2 separate regions of the Homo sapiens genome follow, and region 2 is linked to region 1. Evidence: promoter capture Hi-C in 16 types of primary human blood cells and fetal thymus (Javierre and others, 2016). All regions are on one chromosome and are shown on one strand. Each heading gives the region's core, a stretch centred on a gene start or on the middle of the fragment in contact. The rest is flanking DNA. Distances are from core to core; before and after follow the strand shown. Region 1 holds the start of FBXO4 (F-box protein 4). Region 2 overlaps OXCT1 (3-oxoacid CoA-transferase 1).

The links. The method cuts DNA at HindIII sites, captures the fragments that hold promoters and counts their contacts. A CHiCAGO score of 5 or more calls a contact.
Region 2: a contact is called between a fragment that was not itself captured here and the fragment with the promoter of FBXO4 in region 1, in 2 of 17 cell types (naive CD4 T cells and activated CD4 T cells). The highest score is 6.3, in naive CD4 T cells.

The regions. Positions count from the first base shown.
Region 1 is chr5:41,924,010-41,926,553 of GRCh38, forward strand. It overlaps FBXO4 (F-box protein 4), which reads left to right and starts at 1,272. Exons shown (of 7, transcript NM_012176.3): 1 at 1,272-1,489. The coding sequence starts at 1,301. RefSeq lists a silencer at 1,530-1,709. The HindIII fragment of the contact is 6,278 bases long and covers 1-2,544 here.
Region 2 is chr5:41,850,542-41,853,085 of GRCh38, forward strand. The region is part of intron 4 of OXCT1 (3-oxoacid CoA-transferase 1); the gene reads right to left. Among named protein-coding and RNA genes, the nearest start is that of OXCT1-AS1, 18 kb to the right of the region's middle. The HindIII fragment of the contact is 5,487 bases long and covers 1-2,544 here.

The sequences.
Region 1 (2,544 bases), core at 22-2,521:
TATTTACAGATGATAGGTCTGGGATTTGTTTCAAAAGGATCCAGAATTGGGGGTGTAGTATTAGGTGAGTATAGCAACAGCACAAGATTAACCAGGTGTTGGTAATGGAATCTTGGATACTGGGCACACAGGAGCATATTATTCACTCTCCTTTTATAAATGTTCAAAATTTTCCGTAATAAAGTTTTTCTCATTCATTTAACAGATATCATTTTAATACTTTATACTTGAACTGATTTTTTTTCTTGCTCTAGTTCGTTTTTTGCTCTCAAAGTAAATCGTGTCCTAGAAAGTGATGAGAAATGCCATATGGTTAATCCGTGGTCCTTGTCCAGATTGCCTCCCAAAAACGAGGCTGCAATTTTATTGGTTATTGGCCCCTACCAACAACATGCAAATAATAAAATGTAATGAAACTTAAACTTGTATGTTACAGAGCCTTGCAGAACCTTAGTTATCAGGCTTTCTTGGATTCTGTTGACATTTAGATCCTCAGAGATTTACTTTTTGAATGTATACATACCCAGTTCTATGTAACAGATTAACTTGTAATACGTTCTCTTAAAGCACTTTTAAAGTAAGCCCAAAGTAAGTAGAATGGGCATCTGGTTTGAGAATTAAAAAACTCACTAGTGGGATTTCAACACCACCACATCTGGGTTCTTCTAGCCGTTTTTTGCCGCCCTTGCAAATTTTAAATGTGCTTATATTTTTGCATAGTGGGTCCAGACTTCTCATTTTGGCAAAAGGTTCTTTGTAATTGGCCCGCTGACTGCCTCTCTAGTCTGTTTTTGCTGATACTCAAGAAAATAAATGGTAACTTGGTGATTGAGGAAATAACACACACAAAAAACACCCCATACGTAGTATGGTAGTGCTGAAAAGGAAGCAAGTGGTTATTAAGCCCAAGACAGTGGCAGAGGTCTATCGAACAAGCGGAGTCGCCTAGGACCAGGCATAGTGGAAATGATCCCGGAGAGAACATCTTGAATGAAGCCAGGAAGTCAGCGGGCCAGAGGTTGTACAGGGGCTCTGCGGTTGGCGTGGCTGAGGTTGAGGCCACAAGTTACTGGGGAAGTTAATTGTTGACAGGAGCTTCGTACTCGGCTCACAGCCACGCACAGTGGGCTTCCTCCCAGTACCCGCCCTTGCCCCTGGGCCTAACCCTGCCCTGGAGGCGGACTCGCGGGAGAAGCGGGAGGCGGAACGCCCGAGGGCGCCCTCGGCTGGCGCGGAGCTGCGCAGGAGGCTGACGCGCTAGCGTGGCTCTAAGACGCGTCACCCACGCTGCGGGCAAGCCATGGCGGGAAGCGAGCCGCGCAGCGGAACAAACTCGCCGCCGCCGCCCTTCAGCGACTGGGGCCGCCTGGAGGCGGCCATCCTCAGCGGCTGGAAGACCTTCTGGCAGTCAGTGAGCAAGGAGAGGGTGGCGCGTACGACCTCACGGGAGGAGGTGGATGAGGCGGCCAGCACCCTGACGCGGCTGCCGGTGAGCGTCGGCCGCAGGCCGCGGAGGACAGTGGGGCCGGCCCGGGCCGGAGGGACCTCCCCTGGAGCCCCCCGGGGCCTGGGGAACTCTCGCGCCCCGGCCTGGGTCTGGCTCCGTCCATGCAGCCATTCCTGGCAGTGTAGTCACCGAGAAGCTACAGTTGATCAGAAGCGTCTTGGCGTGGACCCTGGTGCTCCGCAGGGGGCCCGAACATCTCAGGGAAGCACCTTCATGGGGCCCCTGGGGACCCTCCCGATCGCCCTCAGGTTTTCCACCCGCCAAAACAGGCACATGTGACTAGGACACCCTGAATGTCCGGTTACGGAAATGAGACAGTTCCCAACTTGCTGATTAGCTTGGGAAAGCATTCCAGCGTCCCTGTTCCCAGCGTCTTTGATTCCGGATCACTGTACCAAAACACTTGGAGGGCCAAGGTTTTTACCCTCTCAAGAGGACATTGTGCCTGTGGCTGTTATTGTGTATTTGAAGAAACAAAACGGCCCCTCAGTTGAAAATAAATGACTTAAGTTACAAGTGCCTCAAGTTACATCAAGGCCACGAGAATGACACACATAACTTATTGTTAAACTTTGGGGTAGATAGGTAAATGAAGAGAACAAAAATTATTGAAAATTATTACAATTCTTTGTCTCATTTGGACTATTGACACCTCTCTCCAATGTGTATATCAACGTGAAAGCTGCAGGTTTAGAATGCCTCCAAGTTTCTCCTTGCAGAGGTTTTTCATAACATTTTAATAGATTCTGTAGAGGAACTAAGATGACAAATTTACGGCCGGGCGCGGTGGCTCACGCCTGTAATCCCAGCACTTTGGGAGACCCAGGTGGGCGGATCACGAGGTCAGGAGATCAAGACCATCCTGGCTAACACGGTGAAACCCCGTCTCTACTAAAAATATAAAAAATTAGCCGGGCTTGGTGGCAGGCGCCTGTAGTCCCAGCTACTTGGGAGGCTGAGGCAGGAGCATGGCGTGAACCTGGGAGACGGAGCTTGCAGTGAGCCGAGATCTTGCCACTGCACTCCAGCCTGGGCGA
Region 2 (2,544 bases), core at 33-2,532, 73 kb before region 1:
TAAATTTTGTTTTATTTCATGATCTATGTTGGTATGGCCTAAATTTTATTCAAGTTAATAATGTAAAGTGTTTAAATTTTAGAGCTTATTTTAAACCATTTTCATAAATATTTTTATCTACAAATCGTCTAAGAAAAAAAACAAAGTGAAAAATACAGCATACTGGTAAATTGGTTTTTAAAAGCCAAGAGTACATCAAATTGTTTCAGAGTAGAAACAGCTGCAAGCAAAGTTACTTTGTATCTTCTTTTGATCATCATCTTTCCGATGGGTGACTCTTCTTCCTAGGTACCAGTGATTTCAAGACTAGTTTCCCTGGCTCTCTCACTCTCAACTGTTTTTCTACCCAGGTTTTCCCTAAGGAATCAACTCTGGCCCTGAACCTTGACACCCTTCCTAACCTTGACGCCTACTGTGATAGACTTGTTACAACAGTCTTACTAGAAAACTGACTGGCTAGTCAGTAGTTAAAAATTGGGGCTGGACACCATGGCTCATGCCTGTAAATCCCAGTGCTTTGGGAGGTGAAGGATCACTTGAGGCCAGGAGTTTGAGTCCAGCCTGGGCAACATAATGAGATCTGCCTCTTTAAGAAAAAAAAGAATTGGTTCATGGTATTAATGATGATGTGTTCATATTGTCCCAACCTTAAAAAGTATTTTCTACTTTAACAGGACTCTAAGTATTCAACTCAAAAAAGAAACTAACAGTTGGGACTTGAGACATTGAGTCATTCAAGTAGGTGGAATATTCTGGGGAAACAGAGACTTGGGGTATAACTGAAAATCTTCCAGATAACTGATTATCTAGCCAACGGAAAGAGATGACTCTACCTTGTGTTGTGAAGTTAGTAACATTTACAAAAAATTAAATCATCAAAATTACCATAACACTACCCCTTGCCTTAAAATATGTTTTATATATACCCTCCCTGAATACTCTCCTTCTATCATACCAGGTAAGGGCCTGAAAGTGGACTATTTCTGCAGATAGGCCTTCTGTAGGTGCCACCAGCTCCTTACCCTCACCCACCAAAGAACTCCTGATCCCCACCATCGATACTCCTCCCCCTAGCCTTCAGGCTGCAAAATAAGCTGCCAGAGCCAGTGTTTACTAACGGGCCACTAAGTTGGGGAAGGAGACACTGACCTCTCTTAGCCTGAGGAAAAACTGTAAAAAAAAAAATGATATATTAATGATGTACGTACTTTCTGACGAAATAAGGAGTAACATAAAAGATACCAAGGGTAATCAAAAGGTTAATTTTCAATAGTTCCACAACCCAAAGAATACTGTATCTTAACCTACCATGTGAAAAATACTGCTATGGACCGAACTGTGTTCTCCCCAAAATTCATATGTTGAATTCCTAGTCACCAGTGTGACTGTATTGAGATAGGGCCTATAAGGAGGTCATCAAGGTTGAAGGAAGTCAAAAAGGTTGGGCCCTGATCTGGTATGATTAGTGTTCCTACAAGAAGAGACACCCAGAGAGTGAGCATGCATGCTCTCCGCCATGCAAGAACCGTGAGAAGTCGGCCATCTGCAAGCCAAGGAGGACTTCCAAGCCTTCAGAACTGTGAGAAACTTCTGTTGTTTAAGCCACCAGTCTGTGATATTTTGTTATAGCAGCCTGAGCAGACTAAGACATCTTTGTTTTTTTTGTTTTTGTTTTTTCAAAAAACTGAGAAAATTGAGTAAATACCAAGCCCAGTGCAATGCTATGGTATGTACAGGTAACGGTGCTATAGAGTGACCAGGTGTGACTGCAACACGAGCCTCAGAATAGTTCCCATGTGTGCTTTCTAGACAAACACACCATGATTTCATTACTAATTTTTAAAAATCTACTAAATTATGTTATTACCAACTTGGCAAAGTCAGTAGCAATATTTTCTGTTGACTAAAATAAAGCGGAGTGGCTCAGTTCAAGAGCTGAGAGCAGAGCATGTCAAAATGAAAGAAGAGCAAACTGTAGACCCTCATTTTACTTAAAGATTTCAGAAAGTTTTCCTTTCTTTATGAATAACTCCAATTAGTTAAGAGATGACATAGAAAATGAGTGAAAAGTTGCTAGATTAATTATAGTAACTGCTTGCTTTGTAGTAACATCAGTTCCCTGGGAATCTAGGTTCTGATCCCAGCACTTACTCAGATATAGTCACATGCACCTTTCAAGGGCTTCACTCTGAAGTGTCTCAGCAAGACCAGATCACCCATAAATTTCTAGTTCTAAAATTCATAGAAATTGGAGAGGCATGGTGGCTTACACCTGTGAGGCCAAGGCAGGCGGCTCATTTGAGGTCAGGAGTTCGAGACCAGCCTGGCCAACATGGTGAAATCCCGTCTCTACTAAAAATACAGAAAACAAAAGTAGCTGGGCGTGGTGGCACATGCCTGTAATCTCAAATCTCAGCTTCTCAGGAGGCCGAGGCAGGAGAATTGCTTGAACTCGGGAGGTGGAGTTTGCAGTGAGCCGAGATCACACCGCCGCACTCCACCCTGGGTGACACAGTAAGACTCTGCCTCAAAAAAAAAAATAAA